Linked DNA regions of Homo sapiens: all the other regions are linked to region 3. The links are contacts of gene promoters, found by promoter capture Hi-C in blood cells and fetal thymus (Javierre and others, 2016). All regions are on one chromosome and are shown on one strand. Each heading gives the region's core, a stretch centred on a gene start or on the middle of the fragment in contact. The rest is flanking DNA. Distances are from core to core; before and after follow the strand shown. Region 1 has its middle 270 kb from the start of ANKRD30A. Region 2 has its middle 330 kb from the start of ANKRD30A. Region 3 holds the start of GJD4 (gap junction protein delta 4). Region 4 has its middle 250 kb from the start of ANKRD30A.

What was found. Contacts are between HindIII fragments. The CHiCAGO score rates a contact against its expected background, and 5 or more counts as called.
Region 1: a contact is called between a fragment that was not itself captured here and the fragment with the promoter of GJD4 in region 3, in 1 of 17 cell types (endothelial precursors). The highest score is 5.4, in endothelial precursors.
Region 2: a contact is called between a fragment that was not itself captured here and the fragment with the promoter of GJD4 in region 3, in 1 of 17 cell types (endothelial precursors). The highest score is 7.6, in endothelial precursors.
Region 4: a contact is called between a fragment that was not itself captured here and the fragment with the promoter of GJD4 in region 3, in 3 of 17 cell types (endothelial precursors, M2 macrophages and M1 macrophages). The highest score is 6.7, in endothelial precursors.

Annotation. Positions count from the first base shown.
Region 1 is chr10:36,853,740-36,858,838 of GRCh38, forward strand. No RefSeq gene overlaps it. Among named protein-coding and RNA genes, the nearest start is that of ANKRD30A, 270 kb to the right of the region's middle. The HindIII fragment of the contact is 1,120 bases long and covers 1,565-2,684 here.
Region 2 is chr10:36,795,078-36,800,756 of GRCh38, forward strand. No RefSeq gene overlaps it. Among named protein-coding and RNA genes, the nearest start is that of ANKRD30A, 330 kb to the right of the region's middle. The HindIII fragment of the contact is 3,067 bases long and covers 992-4,058 here.
Region 3 is chr10:35,602,654-35,608,467 of GRCh38, forward strand. GJD4 (gap junction protein delta 4) reads left to right here and starts at 2,688. Exons shown (of 2, transcript NM_153368.3): 1 at 2,688-2,978; 2 at 4,925-5,814. The coding sequence starts at 2,915. GJD4-AS1 (GJD4 antisense RNA 1) reads right to left here and starts at 5,540. Exons shown (of 2, transcript NR_199600.1): 1 at 4,873-5,540; 2 at 1,909-3,312. The HindIII fragment of the contact is 9,701 bases long and covers 1-3,384 here.
Region 4 is chr10:36,873,651-36,878,848 of GRCh38, forward strand. No RefSeq gene overlaps it. Among named protein-coding and RNA genes, the nearest start is that of ANKRD30A, 250 kb to the right of the region's middle. The HindIII fragment of the contact is 7,453 bases long and covers 1-5,198 here.

The DNA of each region.
Region 1 (5,099 bases), core at 875-3,374, 1.3 Mb after region 3:
AAAAAAAAAAAAATGTAATCTCCTGTAGTTCTCATGTCTTTTTCATTGTGTTTAATGCAATATCATGAATATTGAATAACCCCATGGGAGCATAGGAAGTGCAACTATTGCTGCTGTAAGCGTTCCCAAGAGGTAGAGAAAACTCATGACATTACAGGAAAATGTTGAGCTACTTGATATGTACTACACACTGAGTTCTTAAGCTCTAGTTGCCCATCATCTCAGACAGCCAATTCATCTTGTAAATAGACTTTGTAAACTTCTGGTATTGATAAGTAAGTGCTGATAATATATTTTGTCTTCCTTGTGATTGTTTTAATAACATTTTATTTTCTCTAGCTTGCTTTACTGTAGGATATAGCATACAACACATATAACATACAAAGTATGTTTTAATTGACTGCTTATGTTTTCTATCAGTAAAGCTTGTGGTCAGCAGTACGCTACTACTAGTTCATTCTAGGGGAGTAAAAGTTATACTATATTTTTGACTGTGTGGGGGTCAGCACCCTTAACAATGATAGAATTTTCTATTCCTGTCCATTTTTGCTTTCTGTACTTTGCAACTCTGTTATTAGCTGCACAAACACTTATGATGTTATGTCTTATCTTTTATTTGACCCCTTTATAGTTGTGAATTGTTTTGTTTTGTCTCTATTAATACTTTTGGTATTAAAATGTATTTTTTCCTGATTTTGATGTAGCCAAATCCTACACAAATGTGCTTACTATTTGCATGGTAAGTTTTTTTCCTTCCATTTACTTTCAACTACTTGTGCCAGCCCCTGCCTACCACCATTCTACTCTCTGTTTCGGTGAGTCTGACTATTTAGGGTACCTTATGTAAGTAGAGTCATGAAATATATCTACTTCAGTAATGGGCTTATTTCACTTAGCATAGTGTTCTCTAGGTTTATCAGTGTTGTTAAAAATAACAGAATTTCCTTTTTTAAGGCTGAATAACATCCACAGTGTGCATATACCATATTTTCATCTATCAGTAGACATATAAGTTGTCTCCATGTCTTGGCTACTGTGAATAACACCGCAATAAATCAGAGAGTGCACGTATTTCTTAACGATAATGATTTCAATATTTTTGGATATATATCCAGAAGCTGGATCGTATGGTATTTCTATTCTTAATTTTTCAATGAATATCTATACTGTCTTCCATAATGGCTGTACCATTTTACATTCTCATCGTGTACAAGTGTTCCAATTTTTTCACATTTTCACCACACTTGTTACATTTTTCAATAACAGCCATTTTAACAGATATGAAGTGTCATTGTGGTTTTGATTTTAACTTCCCTGATAATTAACAACTTTTCATATACATGTTGTTCATTTGTATGTCTTCTTTGGCAAAATGTCTATTCATGCCAATTGCAAATTTTTAAAAATCAGCTTATCTGATTTTTTGCTACATAGCTATAGGAATTTCTTATGTATTTTGGATATTTGGATATAAACTGATCAGATATATAATTAGCAAATATTTTCTGTCATTTCATAGGTTCTCTTTTCACTCTGTCAGGTTTCTTTTTCTTTTCTGTACAGAAGCTTCTTAGTCTGATGTCTTTCCACTGGTCTATTCTTGCTTTTGTTGCCACTGCTTCTGGTGTCATATCCAAGAAATCATTGCCAAGACCAATGTCATAACGATTTTCCCTTATTTTTTTTTTTTGTAAGTTTTACAGTTTTAGGTCTTACTTTTAAGTCTTCAATCTATTTTAGTTGATTTTTGTTTGTGGTGGAAGATAAGTGTCCAATTTCTTTTGATGTGGATATCCAGTTTCCCCCACCCTATTGAAGAGATTATCACTTCCCCATTGTGTATTCTTGAGAACCTTGTGGAAGATCAGTTGAGTGTAAGTGCCTGTGTTTATTTCTGAGCTCTTTATTCTTTCCCATTGGCCTTCATGTCTGTTTTTATGACATTACCATACTGTTTCAATCTTTGTAATATATTTTAAAATCAGGAAGTGTGGTACTCCCTGATTTGTGATATTTTCTGATTTCAATCAGGGAGTATCAATATTTGCTCTTTCTCAAGATTGCTTTGGCAATTTAGGGTCTTTTGTGGCTCCATATGAATTTTAAGATTTTTTTTGTATATCTATAGGATTGCCATTGGGATTTTGATGGGGATAGGATTAAATTTGTAGATCACTTTGGGTAGTATAAACATTTTAACAATATGAGGTTCTCCAGTCCACAAATGTGGTATGTCTTTTCATTTATTTGCATCTTTAATTTCTTTCATTAGTGTTTTGTAGTTTTCAGTGTACAAGTTTTTCACCTCTTTGATTGTTTGTTTCTAAATATCTCATTCCTTTAGATGCTATTGTAAATAGGATTTTCCCCTTGATTTACTTTTCAGATATTTCATTGCTAATGTACAGAAATGCAACAAATTTTTGTACATTAATTTTGTATATTACAACTTTAAAAATTAGTTTATTGGTTCTAAGTATTTTGTGCTAGTGGATTCTTTATAATTTAATTTTCTACATGTAAGATTATGTTATCTGAAAAAATAAAAATAATTTTATTTCTTTCTTTTGTGTTTGCCATTTATTTTTTTCTTGTCTAATTGCTCTGGCTAGGACTTTTAGTACTATGTTGAATAAAGGTGGTAAATATAGGCATCCTTGCCTTGTATTGCATCTTAGAGGAGAAGCTTTTAACTTTTCACTTATGAGTATGCTGTTAGCTGTGGGCTTGTCATATATAGCCTTTATTATGTTGAGGTACATTTCTTCACATTGTGTCTCATTTATTGAGGGTTTTTATTGTGAAAGTTTGTATTAGTCCGTTTTCATACTGGTGTAGAGAAATACCCAAGACTGGGTAATTTATAAAGGAAAGAGGTTTAATTGACTCACAGTTTCACATGACTGGGGAGCCCTCAGGAAATTTACAATTATGGCAGAAGAGGAAACAAGTAACTTTATTACAAGATGACAGGAGATAGTGTGAGCAAAAGCAGGGAAAACTGCCTTATCAAACTATCAGACCTCATGAGAACTCACTCACTATCACGAGAACAGCATGCGGGACGCCGCCCCATGATCCAATCACCTCCTGCCAGGTATTTCCCTAGATACATGGAGATTATGGGGATTACAATTCAAGATGACATTTTGGTGGGGACACAAAGCCAAAACATATCAAAGTCATTGAATTTTTAAAAACATTTTTCTTCATCTATTGAGGTCATCATGTAACTTTTATCCTTCTTCCTGCTAATGTGTTCTATCAAATTTAATGAGTTCATGTCCTTTGTAGGGACATGGATGAAATTGGAAATCATCATTCTCAGTAAACTATCGCAAGGACAAAAAACCAGACACCCCATATTCTCACTCTTAGATGGGAATTGAACAATGAGAACACATGGACACAGGAAGGGGAACATCACACTCTGGGGACTGTTGTGGGTGGGGGGAGGGGGGAGGGATAGCATTAGGAGATATACCTAATGCTAAATGACGAGTTAATGGGTGCAGCACACCAACATGGCACATGTATACATATGTAACAAACCTGCACGTTGTGCCCATTTACCCTAAAACTTAAAGTATAATAATAAAAAAAAAATTGGCAAGAGTTTAAGAGGTGGATTAAAGAAGAGAACTTTTTTACTGAAAGGGAAAATGTTCGTATTTATGCCAATTTTAATTAATTCATTAATAGCCAGACAGTCTGAAGAAGATTGAGGTAAAATAGAATGGTTTGATATGGTACTTGTATGAAGAATGACAGATGCCAGAGAAGAAAATACAAGTAGAAATAATACCCAAGATCATCAGATTTTGTCATTGATGCTGAAATATTTCCACCAAACAGGAAAGAATATATTGTTTAAGACTATTACTGAAAGCGTCGTGTTTATTGGATGTCTATTGTTCCAAATATTTTTATAATCTTCTAATTTTTAGCCTAATCTTGACATGAATACATGTCAAATGCTTATTTTAAAGATAAGTCATGAACATGTCATTGAGCATGCTCTATATATTGTGCAGTACTTCCCTAGGCACTATGGGGAGATAATGACAAGGCATACTTTCTAATACCAAGGAGGGTCAATGCTGTGTTTTGCAATGGAAGAGAGGATCACTGTATGGGTGGCCAGAATCAAAAGAACAATTAATTAGAGGAATGGCAAATTTGGAATTTCTTTACACAGAGGCTCAAAGTCAGAGGGTCAGTAAATACAAAAAAAGGGTGTCAAAATTTATAAAGGCTGAGTTTGAGACTATGTTACAAATGTTTATCCTCAATGACATATGAGAAGAACATATCTGATGGTATTATCAGATACCAGATACTTTGAACATTAGTAATAGAATAAGGTAATCAATAAAAAATGAAATAGCTAGGCAATCTAATATAGGATCAGATGAGCATGAAGTTCAACCTAGCAGGAAAAGCAGAATTGGAATAATTTTTCCAAAAAGAGAGGCCAGTTCAGATTAAGGGGATAAGAACTGGGTTTTAAACATACAAATTATTTTTTCTTATAAACACCACTCATATAAAGACATAAGATGTAATAATCACATATAAAAATATAAGAACTAGTTTTAAATTCATTTAAGTGACTGTGTAACTGAACATGTGTTTGGAGTTCCCCAAATCTATATAACACATAAATTATTATTTGTCATACACTGTCCCCCAGAGTCCCACATAAAAGGGGGAGAAAAATGACATCCAATATTTTAGTGCCCCTCCAATTATCACAACCACTTTTTAGACCTAATGGAGTAAACTGTGTCTTTATTTAAAAGACACTGCTTCTTGGAGGCTCATATCATTCAGTTATTGTACTTTCTATACTTTCCCGTCATAGTCATTTTTGTATTTGTTTAGTTTTGCTGCATGACAAACTGCCTTAAACCTAATGACTTATAAAAACAATCATTTGCTCAACTCATAATTCTCCAGGACAGCAATTTGGACTGTGCTCAGCTGGGCTGTTATCTGGTCTCAATTGGAATCACTATTGCTTTTAGATTAACTGAGAGGTGACTAGACTAGGACAATAACAGCTGGGACCATGTATTTCTTCTTGATGTCATCTGTCA
Region 2 (5,679 bases), core at 1,275-3,774, 1.2 Mb after region 3:
AATGATAAATGAAGAATGAAACTTATGAGGCTCAGTGGGACAAATTCTCTAAGCCATACTTTCTTCACTGAAATTGATTAATTTTCCTTAAGAAATGACATCATTCTCATGAGGTAATCTATGATTCGTTGGTCTAAGATAATCCAGTGGGCGACAAGGGTCATCTCTCAGTGGAAATCCTATGTTTCCATCTATACATTGCTCTATTTGATCAGTTCACTCTTTCTAAGTTCACCCTTTCCTGCATCTCCTGTCTTCTACTAGATTTTTATGCCAACTGGTATGACCATGTTTGAGGATTCCCTAATAATTAGACCAAGTGTGTCAACTCATGTACTTTTTTATCTCAAAAAGAATATATAAAGAATTTATCTTCTAATGAATATGTAGAAGAACTGTGAAAAATAAAACATACAAAATATACTATTACCATTTTATAGCATTTGTTTTGATACTTGAGTCACATCTAAGGCTAAACATAAAATCTCTGCTAAATACAGCAGAAGGCATAAGAAAATCTAGTTGAAAAGGAAACATAGTAAAAATACTAGTTAGATCCATAGAAGGTGGGTGTATTTTCCTAATATACTGACATGATCTCTCATATCTGACTAAATTTGTTGTATATGCATGTGAAATTTCTCACTACCTCTTAATACCTTCTAAATAAGAAAATTAGCTGTGTTTGGCTTTTTCCTCCTATCTACCAACTCCCTAATCAAAAATAGTGATAAAGCTTTTCAGTTTAAAACAGATTTTTAATTTAAAATCCACCTGAAATTTATCAGAAGATTATTGAGTGCTTTAAAATCTTAGTAAACATTGAAATCTGAATTAAGAAAGGTTAATTGATAAAAAATTTATGACTCAGATTCGTGTTTATGAATCCACCTAAATTTCCTAAGAATACCTTTAGTGTTTAGCGTGCAGGTCCTGGTCTTGTCTTTGTCTTTGTGGGTTTTCTGTTTGCTTGTTTTCATTTTTGTTTCTAAGCTTTAAGTTTTAGTAATTTTTTTATGTTCTGAAAATCCTGTGAGAGAAAAACTATTGAAAAAGATTACAAATGTACAAAATTCTCCCTTGATATTTGATTGAGAGTACTTTCTGCATACATACAAGATATATAGTCTTCTTTTATTTATTATTTATTATTTATTTATTTATTTTTGAGACGGAGTCTCGCTCTGTTGCCTAGGCTGGAGTGCAGTGGTGCGATCTGGGCTCACTGCAACCTCCGCCTCCCGGGTTCAAGCAATTCTTCTGCCTCAGCCTTCTGAGTAGCTGGGATTACAGGTGTGAACCACTACGCCCAGCTAATTTTTTTTGTATTTTTAGTAGAGATGGGGTTTCACCATGTTGGTCAGTTTGCTCTCGAACTCCAGACCTCAAAGGATCCGCCCACCTCAGCCTCCCAAAGTGCTGGGATTATAGGTGTCAGCCACCGTGCCCAGCCCTAGTCTTCTTTTAAAATAGCACATAGAAGGACTTCATATATGCTGGGATAAAGACACATGCTTCCATCAAGTTCAGCATCTGGAAAAGGTAAGGGAGGAGGTCATCACAATAGTTTCTGTTTTCGATACATGATATCAGTGACATCTGTCTGACATGTTATCTGTATATATTTTTTAAAGAACTATATGCCTTATGGAATGTAATATTTAATACTGAATTTGAATGAACTTTGTCAAATAACATTCATTTGAATTTTCTACAAACATATCTGAAAGAAATCTCAAAGAAAATTAATCTCATTTTTTCAAATATTAAGTATGTGAAAGTTATAATGAAAGATCAAAAGAAATAAATGAACCTGTTTTTATTTTTATTTTTTGTTTTAAAGCTAAATGTGCTTTATTGAATTGTAATGAAGAGTAGCATCTGTTTTGTAAAGGGTGTAATGAGGGCAGTCCTTTACTTGGATGGAATGAGGCACGATAACTTCTAGGTGAATAGATTTCTGTGCATTTGTTGGGATGTGAGCCATTGATGACAAATTTGGTGACAGTTCACAGCTTTTTAAGTTGCTTACTATAAGATCTTCCATACACTTTACATGTGAAAAACTGTTGTTTCAGTTTTGGTCATTAGAAACACTTTCAGTTGGCTCCAGTGTGCCTTTGTCATATGTTCATTATTGCAGGTTTTTTTTTTTAATTTGATTTGCCAGCTTTCTTCACTTTCTGGCACTACTACATGCTCCAGGCTCACCTTGTCTATTTTCTGTACCAGTCCTAGAATCAGCCATTGTTTCAGTCAGTTGGGGCTTCTATAACAATTATGTCATCGACTAGGTGGCCTAAACAAATATTCATTTCTCACAATTTTGGAGGCTGGGAAGTCCAAAATCAAGGTGCCAGCAGATCTGGTGTATGGTGAGGTTTGTATTACCACATGGTGGGAAACAGAGAGAGAGAAAGCCCTCTCACATCTCTTCTTATACGAGCACTGATCTTATAAATGAGTTCTCCACCTTCATGACATGGTTACCTCCCAAAGATTCCACCTTCTAATGCCATGACATTGGAGATTAGCCTTCAACATATCAATTTTGGGGGTAAACAAACATTCTGTTCATTGCAGCCATTTATCCAAAGATCACTGAATCATTTTATTGGAGAACTGTGTTAGCAACCAAGATCTGGGTACTAGGCATACTCATTTCTACCTGGATGTTGTTGCTTCTAGCCCTTCTCAGCTGACAAAGAAAATAACTACATATGTGAATACAAAGTCATTTGTATGTACGTAATTACATATATATTTTATACTCTACATCTGTATTAAGCTAAACATGATTTCATGCTGATATTTCCAATTCTGATCTATTACATATGGATCATTCTAGCCTTCTCCTCTTATGTTTCTGTAGTCTCTTACTCCAACAGTGAAAAACCTGGCTTCAGTCATCATCCAATCAATGATTTAATTGTTTGATTCTAGTGTACATGCATAGCAGTATCAGAATTGTTAGCCTGTACTCCTGTAAGAAACACCTTTATCAACTAGAATACAGTGTTACCTACTGTTCCTTTTCCCTTGAGTTTTACAAACCTCACTCATTTCTTAAATTACTTTAGTGAGCAACTTTTCCCCACTGTTGTTGGTGAGGTTGCTTCACAGGTTTTTAATACAGTTAGATTGTTTTGTTACATTCTAACTTTCTTCATGAGCTGCTAAATAATTCTCAAAATTTGCATTCATTAAGGTTTATTATCAGTGTCAGTGCATTTTGACAAATGCATAATGACATGTATTCAAAAATAAGGTACCATAAAGATAGTTTATCCACCTAAAAACCTCCTGTGCTCCCTCCCTAACTTAAAAGATTTTATAACTCACTCTCTTCCTCAAGAGGGAGGACATAATATTAACCTATATTTTGATGTATATGGACTTCCTTTGGCTTATTTTTACCTTTCCAGACACATCTTCAGAGTCATATTCAGACTCAACAATTGTGCACTGAATGCAAATCAAACTGTTTGTATTTTTTCGAATATATCATCTTGCAAATTAATCAACACTAAATACTTCCTCCCTCTGCTCAAAAGGCCCTTCTAGCCGTGAAAGCCTAAACAATTTCTGCAAATTCTTCAAAAATCACATCAAATGTTGCCACTGTCAGAACAGACCTCCTCGATCATATAAAACAGGAGAGTTAAAATGTATTCTCCATTTCATTTATCCCTCTATAGTTTTTTATTTGTTTTCTTGTTCCTTTCACTAGAATATCCTTGAAGAAAGATGTCATGATATTCACATGTATGTCTCCAGTGCCTGTCAGAGTATCTGACACAATATTTGCATATTCAATAACTATGAGTCAAAGAGACAATAGAGTGAATGAATGAATAAATGAATGAATGAGGGAGAGACTGAATGAGTGAAACATACATATTTATTTCTGATTTCAAATTTCAAAAGTTGAACTATATGGAAGTTGAGGCTACCCTAAGTCTAAAATGGTGAGTCACATCTTCTCAGGGGAGTTTGAAAAGCCCTAGGTCTAACCACTTGAGGACCACTGGATCTATTCATGGAAGGCTTATGAACGAAGCTTGATAAAAACTTTGTTCCCTTAGAGTTGATACGAAGTTTTCTTCTTGCTTTGACTTATTAAAAAATTTTTAGGCCAGGTGTGGTGGCTCACGCCTATAATCCTAGCACTTTGGGAGGCTGAGGCAGGCAGATCATGACGTCAGGAGTTCAAGACTAGCCTGGCCAACGTAGTGAAACTGCGTCTCTACTAAAAATACAAAAATTAGCTGGGCGTGGTGGCTTGTGCCTGCAGTCCCAGCTACTCAGGAGGCTGAGGCAGGAGGATTGCTTGAGCTGGGGAGGCGGAGGTTGTGGTGAGCCGAGATCACACCACTACACTCCAGCCTAGGCAACAGAGCAAGACACCATCTCAAAAAAAAATTTTTTTTTAAGAGCTAAATATCTCCATATGACAGCCCAACCTTCTGTGAGTATACATACAACTCTAAGACTGATTTTCTGGCCAAATGGAGAATTTGGATAATATTGCAAGGCAATAGCAACACTTATCTCACAGGAATCTCTTCTGTCCTTATTTTCAAACTTTCAATACACAAATTTGGTACAAATATTAAGTACAGATATCATTGTATTAAGTACAAATATCACCACTGAAATTCTTTATTTCACAGGCTTCCACATAAACCAATAAAACTAATTTAAAGTCTTGCAGTATATTCCAAGACCTCTTCTCCATGTCACCTAGAATAACCACTCTGTAAACATTCAATGTCAAGCTTAAGTGCTCAAAAATTGAAATTTTGCTTTAATAAAAAGGATATTGAATGCAACTGAGGAAAGAGTTCCAACTTTCTTTGCTAGATCCTCCAAATAAAAGAACCTATTATGCCAAATCAAAGCAGGTATTTCTATTGACGAATGCTAACACCTGCATATCAGGCAGGCTGGGTGATGTCATTCATCTTTTCTGTGCTAAATTCAGCAATTAGCCAAAGAACAAACTTGTGCTTGGAAAATGCAATTGCCTCAAATAAATGATTTAAACGAATAATAAAAAGCAATTAATTGTATGATGCATTCTAAAGATCAAGTTGCTTCATTTAGGGATCAATGAAAAGCTTTAACCACTAAACCACCTTAAATCAATCTAAACACTTGCACTAAACTTCTTAAACACAAATATTTTTTCTTTTTTCCTGTCCTCTGAAACGGAATTTATTTGAGGTAGAAATTCCAAAAAAAACCCACACCATTTTGTGATTCAACTGCTTCTCTTAAGACAACCACATCAACTTTATCAACTCAAAAGGTTAAGTTTGGGCAGGTTTTTTTGGTTTTGTTTTGTTTGTTTGTTTGAGACAGTCTTGCTCTGTTGCCCAGGCTGGAGTGCAGTGGCGTGATCTCTGCTCACTGCAGGCTCCACCTCCTGGGTTCACGCCATTCTCCTGCCTCAGTCTCCTGAGTAGCTGGGACTACAGGTGCCCGCCACCACGCCCAGCTAATTTTTTGTATTTTTAGTAGAGATGGGGTTTCACCATATTGGCCATGCTGGTCTTGAACTCCTGACCTCGTGATCCTCTCGCCTCAGCCTCCCAAAGTGCTAGGATTATTGGAGGGAGCCACCGCACCCGGCCTGTATTACTGTCTTTAGCTGATTAAGGTTAAACATTTAGACTA
Region 3 (5,814 bases), core at 1,438-3,937:
AGTTTATAGATGGTAAAACTGAGGCCTAGATAATTTGCCAAAGTCACTACACTAGAGAGAGGTGAGGCCAAGGCTGAGTGCCATGTAGTGCTATTGTTCTCTTTCCTTTTTGCTAACACTTTCTTCTTTTTTCTAGATACAGGGTCTTGCTTTGAGGCCCAAGGTAGAGTGCAGTGGCATGATCATGGCTCACTGCAGCCTTGACCTCCTGGGCTCAAGTGATCCTCCCACCTCAGCCTCCTGAGTAGCTGGGATCACAAGCATGCCAACACTTGGTTAATTTAAAAACATTTTTGTAGAGATGAGGCTCTCTATGTTGCCCAGGGTGATCACTTGAACTTCCGGCCTCAAGTGATCCTCCATCCTCGGCCTCTCAAAGTGCTGGGATTACAGATGTGAGCCACAGGGCCCATGCTGACCACTTGCGTTTAGTGAACTATCCCAGTTTGGCATCTTGTACACTTCAGCCCGACTCCCAGCTGGTTTCTTTGGCCATGGGTTGAACACAGCACTCCCCACATCTTCTCTCTAATCCACAGACACATACAGAAACCTTCCCATCGGTGCTGGGATGCTCTTACAGAGAGTCGGGAGTTGATGCCCAGATGCCTCCACCTTCTCTGCTTCCCTTACCTCCAGCTAGCTTCAGGTAGCCACTGGAGTTAGGATTTCTTTTCTTTTTTGAGATGTAGTCTCGCTCTGTCACCCAGGCTAGAGTACAGTGGTGTGTGATCTGGGCTCACTGCAACCTCCGCCTCCTGAGTTCAAGTGATTCTCCTGACTCAGCCTCCCAAGTAGCTGGGACTACAGGTGCCCACCACCATGCCCGGCTAATTATTGTATTTTTAGTAGAGATGGGGTTTCGCCATGTTGGCCAGGCTAGTCTTGAACTCCTGACCTCAGGTGATCCACCCACCTCAGCCTCCCAAAGTGCTGGGATTTACAGGCGTGAGCCACCGCGCCTGACCAGAGTTAGATTTCCAAGTAAAGCAAAATGTCACCTAGCAGGAGAGAGGAAAAAAAGAGAAAGAGAAAAAAGACAAGGAATGGGGATGGGGTAGACTTCAAGGAGGAAGAGCAAAGGTGACCAGGATGAGAAGGGAGATGGGTGGGCATGGGCTGCTCAGAAGATGCCCTGAAGGGTGGGACCAGAGGAGCCAACCCTGAGAAGCGCCTGTCACTGACACTGGGTCATTCTTTACATTTCAAAATCATTTTCACATCTCTGGTCACATTTGCATATCACAGTCACTGTGAGTGGGTGAAGAACACATTCTTTTTTTCTGCTTCACTGATGAGAAAACCGAAGCATGAAAAGCTGCAGTGATTTGCTCATGGTCGCGCAGGGCTAATTTATTCCACATTTGGGATGGGCTATTTCTATCACACAGCAAGAGTCAGTAATTGCTTTCCTGATATTTCATTTTTTTTTTAAAGCCAATACCATGAGCAGTCTATTAGGAGACAAATTCTCCTTTATTTTATACTTACACCCTGTGACTATTTCAATATTTTTACTTAACTACAATTTCTCAAATTTCCTTGCTCATGTCGAAGCATTTGACTAAAATATAGCAAAACCACTGTTCCTTTCAAGGGGGTCAAAACGTTTTCCGTGGATGGGAGCATGTCATGTGAGCAAAGATGAAAGTAGCTTTGTTGCACTCTTCTGGGAATCTTTCTAGGGATATTACTAAAGTCAAGAATAGATCAGAAATGAAGAAAAGATGGGGATATAAAGAATAGCTTTCATGGAAAATTGAAATCATTCCTTTTAAAGTTTACAATTTCCACCCTGATCATAGATCCCCAACCCTGCAGGATGGGTTCTTCCCAGATATGAAGGTGGCTGCAGCGATAGGATTTTGACGCAACTGTGATTGATGTCAGCAGGTCCAGACCGTGATATTTCATGACAGATTTAACAGACATTTATTAAGTAGATTCAATGGGAACAGCTCCAGGCTAGATGGGGCTGGGAGATACAAAGGGAAGATGTAATCTGTGAAGGTCGTAGAGGCCAATTAGGGATTGAAATCCCACGGATATGGGTTGTCGTACACCCACTTCACACCAGTTGCTCTTATTCTACACCATCATTTCACATAAGCCTCCCACAAATGGCAAGTGGAATGGCATGATTCTCCTTATTGCAAGATGAGGCTATCTGGAAGGATCCAATGACTTCCCCAGTGAGTAGGGGGCTGCCCCGGGCTTTGCACCCAGGCTTTTGTCTCCAAGCGAAGAGTTGTCACTCACTGCACAGGAAGCAGCAGGAGAATAACCAAGTCACGGTCTAAAGTTGGGACACCCAACTGAGTTTCAGATTTCTGCCTGCACCAATGACACAGGAATTCAGAATAAGGGCGAGATCCTTGTGGGTTCGTGTGATGGTGGCATGGCGATTCATGCTTGATTGAGAAGACAAAACGTGAACACTTTAAGGGCTTCTTGCACAAGTGAAGTGGTTGTGGAAATGTTTTCAAGGAGGAAATGCCTTTTTAATAGAGAAATTTACTTGGCTAGTTAGCAGAAGTTTTCTTTCTTGGGTTAAAAGTAGTTGCTGCTATTATATCCTGAAGCATCTGGCTGTCCTGGTGGGGACATATGAGCGCTGCCACAGGCCGGGAATATCCCAGGCGAGTAAGAATAGCCCACAATAAGAGATGACTGCTGCTTGCTCTGCTGGTCACTGCAGTTGTCAGGAATGTTTCGCCTCAGAGGCAAACGGCTTAGGGCCGTCTCAACTTGGAGACAGAAAAACCCACCTCCTACTCCTGGCTCAGACCTTTGCTTTCTTATCTCCAGCTCACACCTTTAAGTCTTATGTAGTTAAAGGACATTTATCCGCCTCCTTGGAGAACACAGCCCTCCAGTGTCTCCTGCAGCCTGGAGCCTGGGACATTCTGGAAGCATGGAAGGCGTGGACTTGCTAGGGTTTCTCATCATCACATTAAACTGCAACGTGACCATGGTGGGTGAGTATTGGGACCATCTCCAAACTCCTGCGCTGTTTTTATTTCCACTGCCATGGTGGAATTGAGTCCTTAAAGGGTCCAGGTATTTACTCATTTTCAGTGTGCAAGCACCAAGCTGAAAGTCCACCCACTCCCAAAAGAAAGGGCTGTGCCTTTCTGGAGGGAAGAGAGCTGAGGCTTCTAGTTTCTTTGAATGGTTCCGCGGTTCCTCCGTCATGTAAGGGAGTCTTGCGTTTGACATTGTTCTCTCACAGATCATCCTGTGCTGACACTGGGGTGCTGACTCCAAAGACCAAAGCAGGTGGAGGGGTGTTTGTGTGCAACCCTGGTGTGGCTACGTTACCAGGAAAAGGAACAGAACAACAAATGTTAATCAGAAGGTGATACCTTTAGGTTTTATTCTGGAAGCTTGGTTTTTTTTTTTTGTTTTTGGAGACAGAGTCTCACTCTGTTGCCCAGGCTGGAGTGCAGTGATGCAATCTCAGCTCACTGCAACCTCTGCCTCCCGGGTTCAAGTGATTCTCCTGCCTCAGCCTCCCGAGTAGCTGGGACTACAGGCGCCTGCCACCACGCCCAGCTAATTTTCTGTGTTTTTAGTAGAGACGGGGTTTCACCGTGTTAGCCAGGATGGTCTCGATCTCCTGACCTCGTGAGCCACCCGCCTTGGCTTCCCAAAGTGCTGGGATTACAGGCGTGAGTTACCACGCCTGGCCTGGAAGCTTAATTTTTAAGGAGTAGCCATTTCTCTTGTGCACTTTAAACCAAATCCCAAGTTTAGTTATTTTTTTTAACAAAGAAAATAATAGATTTTTGTTTAATGCAGACGACTCACATTTTCAGAGAGGTATGGGGGTCAGAAAAGGATGAATATATGCCGGAGATGCAGTTGATACTTTTCTGGCTCATTATTTTGTAGATTTAGACAAAACCAACTTGATGTTAAAAGTTCAACTCAATGACTCATCACATAATGATATTATTCTTTGTTTGACTGTCTTTACATATTTATTTTTGTTTTGTTTTTATGATGTCAGGCGATGTTTCTCTCATCACAAAACACAATATTCACAAGTTATTTTGGCTGAGTTTTAAACATGTTTCGAAACAGTTGGCCGGTGCCATGAAAATAGGGCTTGACAGTTATTTTGGTTTTCTAGCTTGGTGTCATTCCTTCACGATACATTGAAGAAAGACAAGCCCCATTCATTCCTAATAACTGGAAAAGGGGAAGAGGAATTCTGAATGATTAAAAAATCTGAAAAATGGAATGTTCATAAAGAAATTCAATTTCAAGGGCCGTAGACTAACATTAAATACAAGCCCTGTGATTAAATAGAGATCCCTGGACTGTTGTCATAAGTAAGATTTACTGAAATCAGCAGCTCGAATTGGCAGTTACAGAAATACACCAACCTCTTTTAAAAGGCTTATTCTCCTAAGAAGAAAATTTAAATCTTATTTAAATCATTAATTTGCTCAGCCAAACTTTCTTTCTGGACCTATCAGTCCAGGAGACATTACCAAAAGTCTGAATTAGCAGACAGATTAAAACACTTTTAATATAATGCTTTTTAAAAATCTACTCATCTTGAAGCATCTTACAAACAAGGATGTTCAGTGCTCAGTAAATATTTGTCAAATGAACTACCTGATGCTGTGAGTAAAGACAAGCTGACAGGTGTGGTGGCTCATGCCTGTAATCCCAGCTACTCAAGAGGCCAAGGCGGCAGGAGCACTTGAGGCCAGGAGTTCAAGACCAGCCTGGGCAATATAGCACGACCCTGTGTCCAACAACAACAACAACGACAACACAAACAAACAGAAAACTAAAGACATGCTTATTGACGTTTCAATTTCCCAATCTCAGCCCCAATAGACACTTTAAAGCTGTTACTCAGGGCAGTGTATTCGGGGTGATGAGGCCATGCCCGCTTCCTCTCTTCCAGGAAAGCTCTGGTTCGTCCTCACGATGCTGCTGCGGATGCTGGTGATTGTCTTGGCGGGGCGACCCGTCTACCAGGACGAGCAGGAGAGGTTTGTCTGCAACACGCTGCAGCCGGGATGCGCCAATGTTTGCTACGACGTCTTCTCCCCCGTGTCTCACCTGCGGTTCTGGCTGATCCAGGGCGTGTGCGTCCTCCTCCCCTCCGCCGTCTTCAGCGTCTATGTCCTGCACCGAGGAGCCACGCTCGCCGCGCTGGGCCCCCGCCGCTGCCCCGACCCCCGGGAGCCGGCCTCCGGGCAGAGACGCTGCCCGCGGCCATTCGGGGAGCGCGGCGGCCTCCAGGTGCCCGACTTTTCGGCCGGCTACATCATCCACCTCCTCCTCCGGACCCTGCTGGAGGCAGCCTTCGGGGCCTTGCACTACTTTCTCTTTGGATTCCTGGCCCCGAAGAAGTTCCCTTGCACGCGCCCTCCGTGCACGGGCGTGGTGGACTGCTACGTGTCGCGGCCCACAGAGAAGTCCCTGCTGATGCTGTTCCTCTGGGCGGTCAGCGCGCTGTCTTTTCTGCTGGGCCTCGCCGACCTGGTCTGCAGCCTGCGGCGGCGGATGCGCAGGAGGCCGGGACCCCCCACAAGCCCCTCCATCCGGAAGCAGAGCGGAGCCTCAGGCCACGCGGAGGGACGCCGGACTGACGAGGAGGGTGGGCGGGAGGAAGAGGGGGCACCGGCGCCCCCGGGTGCACGCGCCGGAGGGGAGGGGGCTGGCAGCCCCAGGCGTACATCCAGGGTGTCAGGGCACACGAAGATTCCGGATGAGGATGAGAGTGAGGTGACATCCTCCGCCAGCGAAAAGCTGGGCAGACAGCCCCGGGGCAGGCCCCACCGAGAGGCC
Region 4 (5,198 bases), core at 1,089-3,588, 1.3 Mb after region 3:
TATTGTGCATTAAATTGGAATCAGTTGTTGCTGATGGGGAAGCATTAAAATCAATTATTTTAAAAACGGATTGTTTTTCAATTGGCTTTTCAGTTTTCTTTTTTAAGACTACTTTTTTGCTTTTCTGGAAAATAATCAAAAGAGTAAATGTGAAAAAGTGAAACAGAATTCAGTGTGAAAAGAAAAGGTTAAACCTGGTAACATTAGGTGGATTGCTTGTCAGTTTGCACATGAAGCAGAGGTTTATTATGGAATTGGACATGATGTTTCAGAATATCATTTGTGGCTCCTCCTGCCTCCAATACTTACTGATCCCCAATTATTTCGCAGCTAGGTCTTGCATTACATAAATCCTACACTGCATAATCTAGGATCCCTTGAAAGGAAGCTAATAAGAATACTTAATGGGTTTACCATGTCATTGACTTTAAATTAGGACTTCCATCCTAGAATGAGAAGTGTGAACATGGATTAAAAACCCAGGGGCCAGAGGCCGGGCATGGTGGCTCTCGCCTGTAAGCCCAGCACTTTGGGAGGCCTAGGAGCGCAGATCATGAGGTCAGGAGATCGAGACTATCCTGGCTAACGCGGTGAAACCCCTTCTGTACTAAAAATACAAAAAAATTAGCCAGGCATGATGGTGGGCACCTGTAGTCCCAGCTACTCAGGAGGCTGAGGCAGGAGAATGGCGTGAACTCCGGAGGCGGAGCTTGCAAGTGAGCCGAGATCGTGCCACTGCATTCCAGCCTGGGTGACAGAGCGAGACTCTGTCTCAAACAGAACAAAACAAAACAAACAAACAATCCAGAGACCATTGTCAAAGACATTAGTGACATTAGTAAACCAAAGTCAGAATGAGCTATTTGTAACAGGCAAGAATGAGACTGTACACAATATCTATTTTTGGACAAGAGATTGGAAAATAAAATGTTTCTTTTTTTTTGAGGCGGAGTCTCGCTCTGTCGTCCAGGCTGGAGTGCAGTGGCGCGATGTAGGCTCACTGCAAGCTCCGCCTCCCGGGTTCACACCATTCTCCTGCCTCAGCCTCCAGAGTAGTTGGGACTACAGGCGTCCACCACCACGCCCGGCTAATTTTTTTTTTTTTGTATTTTTAGTAGAGACGGGGTTTCACCGTGTTAGCCAAGATGGTCTCGATCTCCTGACCTCGTGATCTGCCCTCCTCGGCCTCCCAAAGTGCTGGGATTACAGGTGTGAGCTACTGCGGCCAGCTGGAAAATATAAATTCTAAAATAAATTCTATATTCTTTTCTTTGAAAAAAATTAAGTGTATTTTATAACATTTTACCTGACTCCATTGTTCTGTCTCAGAACTCCCGAATATTATAAGCAAATTTATTTGTGTATATATAGATGCACATCTTTCTGGAGTGTGGGTACAGTAATCTCCAACAATGATTTTTACTTTTAGTGATCCCAAAATGATGAAGAATTACTACTGTATAATCTCTTTTCAACTTGAAAAACAATGTGATAGAAGTGTCTGGCTTTCCATTTATTGTGGTTTTTTTATTTGAAAAGAGCCTAAATCAAAGCTCTTCGGTTATAAGAAACAGAAGCCCAAATGACTGAGCTGAAGCAGATCAAAGCTGTCTATTAATCAGGGCAAACAACAGAAAGAAAATCCAGTTGTTTTAAACAGACACCTAATTTATTGGATGAATGTCATGGAGTTCCCAGATTTGGCTGGAAGGTTGAGGAACCAGGTTTAAAAATATAGGCAGCAGCTGGGTGCAGTGACTTGTGCCTGTCATCTCAGCTACTCAGGAAGCTGAGGTGGGAGAATTGCTGGAGCTCAGGAGTTTGAGAACAGCCTGAGCAACTCAGCAGGAGCCATCTCTAAAATAAGGAACATAGACAGAAACTGAGGCATACCATTGGAGGAAAGTCAAAATCCAGACAAGAAAAGAGTATGATTAGGGCCTTGTTGCTTCTAGCAAAGAGCCCTGCAGGACACAGCAGTGCTGGTAGAACCAGCACTGGGCTTTACCAGTTCTGCAGATGCTTGAAGAAGCTGAAATAAGTCTTAATCACCTGATTATCTGCAAAATTAAATGTATATCATTGTTCTTGGTCATAGAAAAAATATTGTTCATCAATATCCTTCACAATATCTGTCTTGTCCATTTTGTGTGGCTTTAACAGAATATCATAGACTGCATAATTAATAGTAAAGAGAAATGTATTTCCTACAGTTCTGGTGGCCGACAGGTCCAAGATTGGGAAGCTCGCATCTGATGGGGCCTTCTTGCTGTGTCATCTCATGGTGAAAAGCCAAAAGGCAAAGAGTATAAGAGAGAATAAGAGGAAGCCAAACTCATCCTTTTATAAACTACTCCCATGATAAGGAACCCACTTCTGCAATAACAGCCTTAATCCATTCATGAGGCTGGCATCCTCATGACTTAGTCACTTCTTAACTGTTCTACCTTTTAACACTATTGCAGTGGGGATTAAGTTTCCAACACATGCTTTTTGGAGGACACATTTAAACCATAGCAGTATCTTTGTGCATACTTGAAAACTGAGCTTTAAGGCTGTTCTTCAAATTTAGAAGACTAGTTCTCTTCTCATGCAATGTGAATTTCCAGAGAATGTAGACAATCCATTTATTGTCCAGAGAATGTAGACAATCCAAAGCCGTTGTCCAGCTTTTAGGAGGACAACGATAGCAGTCAAAACAGCCCTCCTAATGTATATGCATTCACATATCGACATTTTGTATTCTCAACGTCAAAAAATTGTTACATTTCAATGAATGAAATACCAATTATCATTTATATTCATCCTCTTAAGACCATTCTCTATCTAGATCTAAGACAGACAAACAGATCAAATAAAATTATCATAGAAAATAAATTTAAGTGAGAAAAAGCATACAAGAAGATCAAGATAATATGGTTCAGATTTTAAAAATGTATCTATTAAAATGCTATAAGAACAATTATATGACTAGATAAGTCAGATGAATATAACATTCAAAATAATAATCTGAATATTTTTGCCAAATATCATTTTGGTCCATTACGTTGATGATATTTGGGTAACTGGGCCGGTTAGCAGCAAGTTCCAAATAATCTAGACCCTTGCTACTCAGAGTGGTCCACGGACAAGCAGTATCAACATTGCTTGGAAGTTTGCTAGGTATGCAGAATCTCAGGCTCTATCCCAAACTTGCTGAGTTAGAATCTGCATTTTACCAAAATTCTTAGCTGATTGCCATATACATTTAAGTATGAGAAGCATTATTCTATTTCTCAGTTATCCTTATTTTTTAGGACTTTTAACTAGGGAGGAGTAAGGATTAAGAACAATCACCTGGGGATACTTTAAAAATTCTCACAGGTTCTAGAATACTTGTGGAGTAGAATAGGCACAGGTAGTCTATTAATAGCATGGATGCTATTTAGAAATCTCCTCAAATAAACATCTTAACTGTTCTCTCTGGTGGTTTGAGAATGTCTAACACAGAAATGTCCAGTCCTTAAAAGTAATTTCTAAGTTTCTGCTCTACCTTGGTATTTAAGAGCACAAATCACCTATTGGATCTAACTAGTTCTGTGACCCTTATCAATTTAGTTAGTAACTTTTTCACTCATTTGCCTTGTCTGTCAAGTGGGGATAATAATGATACCTATGTGATAACGTTTTAACATAAGTAAATGAATATATGAATGTAACATGTTTACCACTTTCCTGGTACAAAATATACACCAATAAGAAAATATATGATTATGCTGGCTGTAGTGGTGGGAGTAGTGGTGATAATGCTCTCTAACACAGAAGATTCCTTAGTATGTTTTGATTTAGAAATGCACAATAATTTAGTGTATAATTCCCAAAATTTAATTACAAAAGTGCAATTGTTTTGATGATATGGTTTTCCTCACATAATCAAATCATGCATACCTCCTCATTTATTAAAGAAATTAATGTTCAACAATATAAGCGTTTCTCTTAAAGGCTGTATACAAAGAAGCTATTTCTGTCAGAAACTATGAGAATTTCCCATTACCAACGTGGAGATGGAGTCAATGACAAAATACTGGGGCTAGTTAGAAGAGGGATAAAAGGTTTCTGTCTACCCAACGGCATACTCCCTACCTCAGACCTGCGCCTTCACTATTCAGAAGAAGCTGTCCCGGTGACTCCCGCCTACCCATGTCTATTTGTCTGTTTCTTTCCCTGCATTCCTTCACAGTCCATTAGTGAAACATTGTCCTCATTTATGTGGAAACCTACTTATTCATTATTGCAAAACCATCGGGGATAGAAGTAGATTAGCAAGGTGTCCTAAAATATTGACTTTTGAATACTAAAGTCAAAAGGAATGGGTAAGAAAGAACTTAAGAGAGTCATGCTCCTTGGGAATTGGTTATGCTTTTTTCCTCTGTTTTTCAAAAATTTATGTTAGTGTATGCATCAAATAATTTATGACTAAACTCTCTTACATATATTCATATAACTAGGAAAGAGCATCATACATATTTTTATCTCTTTCAGAACTTTATAAAACAAATGGCAATCACTAGAATATGGCTAGAGACTGTGACAATCATTCCACTCTTCAGTTTAAGGTCTGAAGTGAAAATTGAAACAGCAATCAGGTGAACGGTAACTGGGGCCAAGGAGAATTTATCCATGCAGTGTTATTAGCAAAACGCCTGGTCTAATTTATTTAAAAGATGAGGAACAGAATAAAATTAATTAAAACAACACAATCTAAAACAACTTTTGAACGTTTAAAAACACCCTACAGCATTAATGGAAAGGAATAATTCAGAAGAAAAACATGTTTTTAGTATAAAATAAACAGGAAAATATCAGTCCAAGAAATATAATTAAATTTCAAAAAGCATGAGCTTTTTATTTAAAAAAAATCAAGAAAACACTGACTCTGTTGACAAGAGGGATGAAAAATATGAGAAGCCAATGGAAAGAGCTACAAAGGGACCTGACTGATGGGTGTGCCCATGGAAAGAGAGGAGCCAGCTGACCCGCCTGTGGGCACTTGAACCAGAGCCTCTGGAAGTGTTGACTTAGAAGCTAGTCCCATGGAGGAAAGACTGGCACAGAGTAGGCTGTCAATCAATACTACTTAAATCTGTTAGGAAAGAGAACGGATGGTGCAGAAGTACACACAAAAATGAAAACGCTAAGGAAATGAAACAAACAAGACT